Linked DNA regions of Homo sapiens: region 1 is linked to region 2. The links are contacts of gene promoters, found by promoter capture Hi-C in blood cells and fetal thymus (Javierre and others, 2016). All regions are on one chromosome and are shown on one strand. Each heading gives the region's core, a stretch centred on a gene start or on the middle of the fragment in contact. The rest is flanking DNA. Distances are from core to core; before and after follow the strand shown. Region 1 overlaps LOC102724020 (a long non-coding RNA gene). Region 2 holds the start of KLRF2 (killer cell lectin like receptor F2).

Region 1 (6,237 bases), core at 3,138-5,637, 140 kb after region 2:
CAGCAGTTCCTTAAATCACAAACAATGGTAGGTCTATTATTTTCTCCCTGGATACACTTTATCTTCATCCATTTCCCAATGTTTTGTCATGGCTATTTCTACTCAAACACTAATCCCCCATTCTCTAATCACCATTATTAATCATATCAAGTCAATTAGTTTGGTTTCACACTAATAATAATGACAAAAAGCACATGCAGAGTAATACACAAACAAAAAAAGTGACAGTTACTTTTTTGTGACAAGAGCAATATTGGGTATGAACTGATTAATATTAATCTGAGGTGTTGCTACTAGACTGAGGGTTTCCAGGAGTAGTACTATGACATCATGTAAACACATTCAGTTTTCATGTTGGAATCTAAGATGTGTCCCTTCTCCCAAAGGGATTTTAATCATTCTTGGCCTCTCTACTCACTCTTAATCAAAGTGTGGAGGAGGTGGCCCCCACAGCAGGGTTTGGAACCTACAGACCCTGGCCCCTGAGACATGCAGCTGTCAGACAAGCCAGCATGTCAAACACAGGTTAGAGAGACTGAGCTTCCAGATTGCATAGCCATTTCCTTGACTACTGAGTAAAGGCCAAGGCTAAGATTTAGTAAGCCTAGCCCTGAAGCAAGCAAAGAATATGGCAGTGTAATGCAGGTCATTTAGAAAAAAACAATGTTGGGCACAAAGAAAATTTAGATCTGACAAGTATAATTTTCTAAAGACATTATTTCAGGATTAACATCAATTTCTTAGCAGAGGAAATGAATACTATTGTCAGAACCATATCTATATAGTCAATCATTTCCTCTTTTAACGTCTGTCTTGTTCTCTTTTTACCCACCACATATGTATAACTATGTGAAAAATTATATTTGTGCATAATAAAATGTGATAACTTTTTACAACAGAATGTGATTTTATTTTTATGTTTTTCTTCATAAGGTCCCAAAGAACTTCAAGTACTTCTAATATAAGCTGAACTGATTAGATTTCATTAATGGAATTACATATTTATGAAGGAAATACAAATTCTCAGTCCAGGATTTAAGTATTTCTCTTAAAGAATTCTACCTGGGATTATGATTAACTTAAAATAAAGAACCCAGATGTGCCAGCTCTGGGCAGATTTTGTGCCAGCTTTAGGCAGCTTCAGATTTTGAAGCTTTGTGGAGGCAGAAGTCTCTCCATATTCAGATACATGACATTGGCTGTAAGAGCAACTGAGGGCACTAAATAGTGATCACGTTTCAAATACAGAATTTATAATTAATTTTAAATTAATTTTCAGATTTAGTACTAAAGAACTTGACCAGATCAATGGATCCAAAGGATGTGCTTATTTTCAAAAAGGAAATATTTATATTTCTCGCTGTAGTGCTGAAATTTTTTGGATTTGCGAGAAGACAGCTGCCCCAGTGAAGACTGAGGATTTGGATTAGTATGCTTCTTCCAAATTCTCCAAGAAGTAAGAGACTTGTGAGTAAGCTCATATGAGGAAAGAGGAAACTACGGTACCAGAGCCAAACCAGCTTTTAAAATGACTGTGTATTTACATTATCAGACAAATGAACTTGTTTAACAGAACATTCTCCAGTTCCTTGTCTGACGTCTTCTGATTTGATGTTATTATTCGGTCTTAAAATTATACCTGGGGACAAAGGGGAATAGCCATACTATGGCCCTATGATTGTCTCAGAATCATTTCACTGAATTTCTTTGCTTTCTCAAATAAAGACTCCTTTCTTTCATTATTATTATACTGTCACGTGTGCACTAGGGTGATATTTAAATATTTAAAAACTAGGGTGATATTTAAATATTTAAAAACACAGGCCACAGCACTAGAACAAGGTCCAAGAGATGCCTGTTGTGATAGTTGCTGGGTCATGTGGAGGTCTGGGGGATCCCAGGCTAAGGGTCCTGGTAGCTGGGGCTGCAGCACTGTATCAACTGATTTGGAAATATTTTATTTTAGCAAATGTTTGTACCACTGTGAACCAGCTAAGTGTCGCCCTGCACTTGCAAAATAGCTTTTCTTCTCCAACAACCCTATGAAAATAAGCGTTCTTATTAATCTTTAAAATTTAGATAATTTATAATCTAGGCATAATAATTTAATATTTACTTTTTTTTGAGACACTGTCTCACTCTGTTGCCTAGGCTGTAGTATTGTGATGTGATTGGCTCACTGCAGCCTCAATCTCCTGGGCTCAATCGATCCCTCCCACCTCAGCCTCCCGAATACCTGGGACCACAGGCATGCAACACCATGCTCAGCTAATTTTTGTATTTTTTTGTAGAGACGAGGTTTCACCATGTTGCCCAGGCTGGTCTCAAACACCTAGGCTCAAGCTATCTGCCAGCCTCAGCCTCCCAAAATCCTGGGATTACAGGTGTGAGCCACTGCCCCTGGCCAATATTTATGTGTTTGTCATTTATTTAAATTAGTAATATTGATGTTATTGATTTTGTAATCTGGGTATTATTATAAAAATATATTCTCTTACAATTGATATTTTGTTTCCCTCAGAAAAGTCCTAATAAACTGTTTGAAGACATCAAAATAGAAGAACCATTATCTTTAATTATTTAGACCTTTCCTGAATCACAGTTTGTCAGTGTTCCTGCACACTAGATGCTAAATATTGTAAATCTAGGGTTCAAGATTTTTCCTGGAACAAAATTGCTGATTTCAGAGTACTGGTAAAGGATGTAGTTTTCCATTTATCTTCACATAGTTCCATAGCTATATATAGGAAGAAAATAATGATAAATTAGCCTTTGATACTGATTTTGCTAGATCAGAAATCTAGAATTTACTGGAAAATTGATATAATCTAAATTCAAAGTTAGATGCATTTCAATACTTTGACAGTCCTTTGAAACTACCACTTCATACATACCATCTAGTAGCTTCTTATTCTCTAAATATTTAAAATTATCAACTAATCAATGTTTTATATAGGCACCAACAGAAACTCTAGAACAAAGGAAAAATGTCAAGTGTGAAAATTTAGTAAAAATTACAAACAATATATTTAAGCACAACTTTTTAAATACAGACAATTATCATAGTTCAAGTAAACAGTGTTTCTTAGTTCTTATACGGGATTCAAACATAAGTTATATACACATGGATTAAAGAAGAAACTTGATTCTTCCATTTCTCTTTAGCAGTTTGCCCCTGGCATTCTCACAAAGATAAAATTATTTCTTAAAGGTCAAAATCTGTGCCTCTGACTCTCACACATTTGGGTTTCGTTTTATTCCCATGAGAAAAATAAGTTCTTTCATTCCTCTATTTCTAATTAAAAAAATCTACTTTTAATAATTAAAATACCTTAGTTGGTTATTTTGTTCCTATTAAGAAGTTACAGGTTTTTTTTTCTGGTATCTTGTATATTTTAATTCTCATTTCATGTAAACTCTTTTATACTCATTAAAAGAAAATTTCTGTTTCTGACCTTACAGTGCTCTGGATCTTGATCAGCTCCTATTACTAAGAGCTCCCTCCCTGCTGCCCTGCTATCATCATATTATCCCTGACGACCTCTACAGTAGATGCATAAATCCAGAGTTCTCAAGATTCACTAGCCCTTTGTGTCAGAATACTTCATCCTTTGATTCTGATAACTTAGCTTATGAGACAGGACTTGATTCCAGAAATTTTCATCTCTTTCTTTTTCTTTCTTTCTTCCTCTCCTACTGCCCCTACACCCTCTCCAGTCAAAATCCCTGAGATATTTTATTTATATATACAGGTATATACAAATGGTATATTTTTAGGGGAAAGACCATTGATATGGTTTGGATCTGTGTCCTTACCAAATCACATGTCAAGATGTAATCCCCAATGCTGGTTGTGGGGCCTGGTGGGAGGTGATTGGGTTATGGGAGCAGATTTCTCATGAATGACTTAGCACCATCTTCTTGGTGCTGTTCTCATGATAGCGAGTTCTCGCAAGATCCGGTTGTTTAAAAGTGTGTAGCATCCCCACCAACCCCACCCCACACCCTCTCTCCTGCTCCTGCTCCAGCCGTGTGAAGTACCCACCCCTCCTTCATCTTCCACCATGACTGTAAGTTTCCTGAGGCCTCCCCAGAAGCCCAGCAGTTTCCAGCATCATTCTTCCTGTACCGCCTGAAGAACTGTGAGCCAATTAAACTTTTTTCTTTATAAATTACCCAGTCTTGAGTATTTCTTTATAGCAATGTGAGAATTTAACATGGGTTCCAAACATGGCTTCACATCAGATTTACATGGATAGTCCCTTAAAGGCACAGATATTTGGGCCACGCGTCAGATCTATAAAATCAGAATGATTGGAAGACAGAAATGGAGAATCTGTAAGTTTCTCAAACTACACAGGTGATTTTTATTAACACAGCCTGAGTGGCAATGTTTGGATAAATAACCTCAATACTAACTCCCTGAGCAAATAGGCCCAGAGGCGAAGGTGCTGGAACCATCTTCAAACTGGATGGCTCTTTCTGCAACGTTAGCAAATTTGGTTTGGTTTGTGCAGACCACGTTAGGTCAGGACAGATCAGAATTGGGACAGATATAGTGACAGTTCTCAACTATTTCACTGTTGTAATCTTAGCCAACAAGCCCTTACTGAGGGTATTAATTGGCATGGTTGGGATGGACAAGTGATATGAAGTTTGATCTGTTTAGCTCTCTGAAAATAGTTCTCAATTTTGCTGCACACTGAAATTATACTGGGGAGCTTTGAGGAAATACTGATGCCTAAGATTGTCCCACCTCTTAAGATGCTGATTTCATTGATGAGAAGTGTAGCTGGGCTATTAAAAAAATTTAAATTTCCTACATGATTCCAATCTGAAGCTAAGGTTGAAAATCCTTGTACTGAGGTTGGCCCAATGGCCCCTATTTTCAGTAAAATAGCCAACCCTCCATTATATATTAAGAAAACGGGTGAACTAGCTCCATTGGTGATGATTACACATGGTTGAGACAGGGACAATAATGATGATTACCTGAAACTAGGATTGATGGTATATTCGAGGCTGCATACAAGCATATATAATCATACTTGTATACATTTGTATGCACCTGGAGAAGGATTTAGACACATTAGTAACATTGTTTTCCTCAGGGTAGGTATGATGGAGTCAAATTGGGAAGAAGGGGAAATGATACACTTTTGGAATGAGAATCCACTGTGAAGCTGAGGACTGAAATCAAGAGTCAGATTATAAATAGGTGGCCAAAATTAACAATGTGGTCCTCAAGCAAATATAATTTTTTATTCCACAGGTATATTAGTTTTACTGAACAAGTAACTACAAGTAATACACCTGTCTGTCTGACTTCCTAAACTTCCTTCCTTCTTTCTTTCCTTCCTTCCTTCCTTTCCCTGCCTCCCTCCCTCCCTTCCTCCTTTCTTCCTTCATTCTTTCCTTCCTTTCTCTCTCTCTTTCTCTTTCTCTCTCTCTTTTTGAGGGTATATAATAATATAAATATAATAAAACACATCTCCTCTCAGTTCTTTCAAAATATGTCACAGCTTTCAAGCAGGCGGAAGTATCCCAACCCCTTATTAGGAAGCAGTACAGCTTGGTGCTTAAGACAATAAATTTTTTAAATCAGACAGCCATGGGTTATGTTTTTATTCTCAATGTAAGTGCTGTATATTTTAGACAATGTCTCAGTCTGTTTTGCGCTGCTATAACAGAATGCCTTAGACTGAGTATTCTATCTATTTCTTGGCTCACAGTTCTAGAAGTTGGGAAGTGTAAGTTAAAGGCACCAGCAGGTTTGGTGCTTGATGAGGCCATTCTCTTCTTTAAGAAGGCAACTGTAACCTTGGGAACGGAGGAAGGTGGGATCCTCATGTGGCAGAGGGCAGAATGGCCAAGAGGCAAAAGGGGATGGAACTCATCCTTTTATAACAGCATTAATTCCACCCATGAGGGCTGTGCCCCTTAATGATCTCTTTGTTTGTTTTTATATTTAGAGACAGAGTCTTGCTCTGTCACCCAGGCTGGACTGCAGTGGTGCGATCACGGTTCACTGCAACCTTGAACTCCTGGGCTCAATTAATCCTCCTGCCTCAGTCTTTTGAGGAACTGGTAGGTACCACAGGTGGGCACCACCATGTTCAACTATTTTTCAAAAATAAATTTTTTGTAGAAATGGGATCTTGCTATGTTGACCAGGCTGCTCTTGAACTCCTGGCTTCAAGTGATCCTCCTGCCTTGGCCTTCCAAAGTGTTGAGATT
Region 2 (5,813 bases), core at 1,224-3,723:
AACGGCAATAATTTGATTCTAGAGGTCAAGGGGTTGCAGTTGCCACAATAAGCCAGAGGGAATGATTAGTAATCAGAGTTTTCATCCACAGAAATCTGTGACAATGATTAGCTGATTTTAAGTTTTGGGAAATGAAAAAAAAAGAAAAGAAAAGAAAAACAAACAAAAAAGGATATTTCACTAAGGAGCTGCTTGATATGCTAAGGAAAATTACATGTATGTTGCCCAGAAACTTAGCCCGTATTTTCAGAGAGGAGATTCATTGTGTCTTACCCAATCCCCAGACTTCCATATAGTTAGTAGGCAAAGCTCTTCGCAGACCAGGAACCACTCAACTGGGGAGGAGGTAGGTTTGGTCTCTTGGTGAAGGACATTGTAACATGGCCACAGGTGTAATTATGATATTTATTCCCCAACACCTAAACCGGAGGAAACTTCAGTCATTTTCTTGAATGACTATACACTGGGAAAAAGCTGAGAACCTGTGATGGTTTCCGGCTTGTATTTACAAACAGAAATAACAAGTATTTCTTTGCTGCCTTGCCCAGGTGTATGTCAGCTCTCCTGATCTCTGTTATAAGATGGCCCAGAGGGAACTAAATCATCTTGATATAGCTCCCAATATGTTATACCTCAGAACTGGTTGCACACAATAGATTCATTACATTGATGCTATCATGCCAACTGTTCCTGGTGAAAAGTAGGCAGTAAACCTACTACATATTTTTATAAGACATATGTTCACCACCATTAACTTGATCCAACTTGACCACTTTGACCCAATGAACCCTATGTTTAGAAGTGCACAGAAGCATTTTATCACAAACATAATTGTGCCATTTTGGAGGCAAGGCCTGAACAGTTCCAAAGAAGCACAGTAAACTGCATGAGCAGATGGCTCAGACTCCGATGGCACATGTTCGCATTCCTTTGCTATCTCCACCTCAACCATACCTATGACCCGGGTTGGGGATGGAAAAGAGGGTTCTGTACGATCTTACACTGAAGTAGTTGAAAAAAATAAGTTTATCAGTGGTTATGTAAAATACGGCAGCTGGAATAGATGCCACACTACAGTCCCATTCAGGAGAAGACTGTGAAAGACAGAAGTGAAGGTAAGTCTTCCCACTGAACAGAAGTTTGGACAATATGTCTGGTTGTGAACCTAACAGGAAGGATAAGCACTCAGAGAAATACATCTAAATCATCTTATCAGAAACTAATAGGTGAGATGACTTGTCGGAAACTCAAAAAGAACAAAATAGAAAAATGAATGAGAAGCTAAGAGGTACATATAGAGATCATGCAGAATGGACGCGGCGTGTGTAAATATTCATTCCCATGTAAATACTCACAAGTGACATCCAGTGTTGAGGAGGAGACTCAATAATCAGGTGAACACAACATGTGCTGTGGGAAACAGTCAGCCACCTTCCCCAGACACTCGGTGTTAAATCAATGGATTGATATTGAGTGGCCACGTAGCAGAAACAGAACCATTAGCATGTGTGTGTGTGTGTGTGTGTGTGTGCGTGTTAAGTGAAATATATATAAAATAAGGAATGTGATTATGGAGGCTGGTAAGTCAAAATTCTGCAAATGAGCATGGACAGACTGGGTACCTAGGAAGGCTCAATTCAAATGCAAAGTCCACCGTCTGTAGAATCAGGAGGAGCTAATGCTGCAGATAGTCTGAAGGCCATTGCTGGAGAATTCTCTCTCACTCAGGGAAGACAAGTCTTTTTGTTCTATTCAAGGCTCCAACTGACTCAATAAGGCCCAGTCACATTACAGAGGAGGCAAATCTGCCTTACTCAAAGGTCACCTATTTAAATATGAATCCCATCCAAAAACACCCTCACAGAAATAAGCAGAATGATGTCTGATCAACTATCTGGACTCTCTGTGACTCAGCCAAGTTGACACAAAATAAACTGCCACACCTACTGAAGGAAAATCTGCCTGGCGTTTTCTGAAAAACAAACAAACAAACAAAAAAGTTTAAAAAGTTAAATTCTTTGCAAGTGATTCCGATTTTCACTAACTTGAGACTTGCTGATCTTTTATTTTCCTATTTTTGTCCCATCTAACCATCGTTATTTGGACTCTACTAGTCAAATATGTCCCAAATAACAAAATTGCTATTTTAACTTTTTTAATTTGAATTTTTATTTACCTAGACATTTGTTCTGTTTGTTTAGAGATTATTTGTTTTATTTTATTTTTTCTCTTACTTTATTATAAAAGACATGAAGGAAGGAATTATGTTTCTAATACACCGCACACAAGTGGCAGGAACACACAAGTCCATTTGTTGAAAACAGTGGAACACACTAGCTACCTTTACCTTGAAATTCACAGAATTGTAGCCAGATATTAACAAGCTTATATCCATTTTCATTTACCAACACATCCTGTGTGGTTTTAGACATCTGTGTCTGAGTAAATTTTGACTATTTTTGGCCTTCCTTTTAGTTTTCTTTTAGTACCTTGTGCCAAAGAGACATATCCAAGGTTGAGATTAGTTTCCATTTTCTTTGTACTATTTTCTGGATAATAAGACATTAGACATTTGAAGAGATGGAGAATGAAGATGGGTATATGACGCTGAGTTTCAAGAATCGTTGTAAATCGAAGCAGAAATCTAAAGGTAGGAATACTGCTCCCCATCACCGCATTTAAAATTTCATTATTCTTCTAGGAAGAGAATTATCTTAGAATATTTTTAACATCTTAACATTGATCATAATAAGGAATATAAAAATGGTCATAAATTGTCTGTTAGATTATTTAGATTCATGAAAGCATCAACAATAAAAAGTCTGCATTTTCAGAGCCATGAGGTAAGAGAAATGCGAATATGACGATGTGTAATCCTGTGTGTTGTAGCATAAGAACATCACTTTCGAAGAAAAGGCTGAAAAATTGTGTTTTTACAGAAACTTCCTCCTACAAAACTTAAAGTTTATATAAACTTAAAGCGTATATATATGCTTATATATATATTTATGCTTATACATATATAATATTTTTAATCTTCGTAAAAGCCCTATAGGATTGGTAGAACAATCTACTGGGAATGCGAGAAGAGAGAAAAAAAAACAAAAAAACATTAATCTTTGCTCCTTAGGGCTGCTCTGTGGTTGGCTTTGTTTGCTTTTTCAGGAATTTTGAAAACAATCTTGTTGAAATAGCCAAGACCTAAGTTAAGATGACATAGGCCAGAAATTCAGAATTACCAGTCGCAGTGGCAGTTCTGCCATATGTATTGAACATTCTCGTGTACAATCTCATTTTATATCTAGCAAATGCAAACTTCCCCTGCACCCCCTGCCCCCACAAAATGACACTTTTGTTATTATCTGAAGACTCAGATCTTTTTTGTGTTTCAATATCATGAAACAAATGTTTACTTTTTCAATAGTAACTTACTTCCATGCAGCAAAAACTAGTACCATTGGTGTTAAATTGACTGAGGCAGACCAGGCACGGTGGCTCATGCCTGTAATCCCAGCACTTTGGGATGCAGAGGTGGGCGGGTCACCTGAGGTCAGGAATTCGAGACCAGCCTGGCCAACATGGTGAAACCCCGTCTCTACTAAAAATACAAAAAAAATTAGCTGGGTATGGTGGCGTGTGCCTGTAATCCCAACTACTTGGGAGGCTGAGGCAGGAGAATCGCTTGAACCCGGGAGACGGAGGTTGCAGTCAGCTGAGATCATGCCACTGCACTCCAGCCTGAGTGACAGAGCAAGACTCCATATATAAAAAAACAAAAAAAATTATTCAGACCCTAAAGCCCACAGACTAAATGTATGGCTCTGGGCAGAAGCTTTTAGCCTTCTTAAATCTCAATACTTTGATATATAATAAGAAAAATCTACCTGATGATGCTTTTATGTGGATGTTAAACTAAATTTACTATTTTTTAATCTATAAACTACTTTTTAATATACAAATGTGTACAGAGACTTAAAATCTGAGTATTGATACATAAAATATAAGATAATATCCATTTAAATTATGAATGAAGGAAGGATAGGGCTGGGAAAATAAATTGGGCCAGAAAAATTACTGTAGGCATGTTTGTGCTTGCTATACATTTGCTTCCAAGCTTCCTTGTTATTACTGACCTAAGGGAATTCTTACCAGTTGTTCAGTTCACATTGTGTATAAGATAAAGTTACACCTATTCCTTAAGATTGATATAATTAATCTTGATCCTAAATCAGAAAAAATATTTTCCTGAGTTCTCATGAAGCACATAAAATAATACAATTAGTGTTCTTGCAATAGTAGCACCAGCAGATTTTGTAAGACAATTTCTTCATATAGCCCTGTGTAAGCCAATGGCATCTAGCCAAGCAGTGCTAGGATAGGCCAGCATACTGCACTTCATGTACTCAGCTCTCTGTTCACCTGGCTTGATATAGTATGTAAATCATGGCTTACATGAAAATATTAATTTTTGGTCTATTGTTCAGTTTTTTATAAATCTTATTTGGCAAGAAGTTTAAAGTCTCCCTCCCTGGCATGTATGGAAAGAGCACTTGTTAACTACAGATCCATATACCCTTGATTGATATTTTCTCATAAAATTGCAGAAATGTATTTTGACGATTTTCAATTAAGTAGAAGTCTTTCCATATTTGCTTGAACAGCAGAAATATCTACAGGGAAGAAAAAGAAAGAAAATTATTTTGGACTTAGTAATACAGACAATTGAGTAGCAAATTTCAAAAGGTACACTACATACAGTAAATTCTCTAAGTATATACTATAGATCTAATCAAATGCAGTAAATCCATAAAACCTATTGAAGTAAAGCATCCACACAGAAATTAGATTTGAGAAACAGCACTTTTATTATGACTTAGAAGACAAATTATTTGTGAAATGTACAACCAAGGTGATGAAATTAAATGTTTGTTTATAGATAAAAGAATAAAAAATAGGGAATAATTATCAGAGTATCTCAAATTACTTTGCTTTCTCTTTGGCCACTAGCCTGGCAAACTGACTAAAATGATTGTAGATTGAGATATTAATTATATGATGTCTGCATATAAAAGGAACCTGTCATAGTTTTGTGAAAAAAGTGTATACATCCAATTTATTCAAAAGTGCTAATATGTGGAAAAAAGTAGATAAAATTGAAAGAGGATTATTATACATGCCCCTGTTTAACCTCTCTAGAGATTACTTGTTTATTCCTTTATAAGGAAGCTATTCTTGCCAACTCTAATGCGATGAAATACTATAGCATAGATGTCATATAAGCATCATTAATTGGAGATCTAATACTACCTAAGCTGAAACTGACTCCTGTCTAAAGAGTCAAACCCAGAAAAATATAATATATTACAGGTGTAAGGTGAAATAAAATGTGGATATTTCCAGTACAGTGACTGGTATATAATAGAATTTTAATAAATATTTCTTTCCCTCTTTTATTTCTTAGCAGTGAGTCACTAAATTGAATAACACACGTAATTGTGCCTGACATAGATATATACATTTTATATATTATTCTTTCTATATAATTTACATGTATAGAATAATATATATGTTTACATTGTATATATTTATATTTTATATAATATGTTATAACAAATATTTATATCATATATAATATGTATTTGTATGTATAATTTATATGGAATTTAAGACATCATTTTTAGGTCCTCAAAAACACCACCAAATAATTAACAAGTCTATGTCAGTACAATCCAAAACGTTTAATAATAGTAGTATCTCCTTGGTTTGGGATTCTAGACTTTTTATTTTTAGATTTTCATTTAATCATAAATTCT

What was found. Contacts are between HindIII fragments. The CHiCAGO score rates a contact against its expected background, and 5 or more counts as called.
Region 1: a fragment that was not itself captured here is called in contact with the fragment with the promoter of KLRF2 in region 2 in 1 of 17 cell types (neutrophils); the score reaches 5.2 in neutrophils.

What each region holds. Positions count from the first base shown.
Region 1 is chr12:10,017,052-10,023,288 of GRCh38, forward strand. The region is part of intron 2 of LOC102724020 (a long non-coding RNA gene); the gene reads right to left. CLEC12B (C-type lectin domain family 12 member B) reads left to right here. Exons shown (of 6, transcript NM_001129998.3): 6 at 1,280-1,745. The coding sequence ends at 1,430. Among named protein-coding and RNA genes, the nearest start is that of CLEC12B, 9.5 kb to the left of the region's middle. The HindIII fragment of the contact is 6,473 bases long and covers 1,152-6,237 here.
Region 2 is chr12:9,879,016-9,884,828 of GRCh38, forward strand. KLRF2 (killer cell lectin like receptor F2) reads left to right here and starts at 2,474. Exons shown (of 6, transcript NM_001190765.1): 1 at 2,474-2,650. The coding sequence starts at 2,581. It also overlaps a transcript of CLEC2A not described here. The HindIII fragment of the contact is 1,448 bases long and covers 2,383-3,830 here.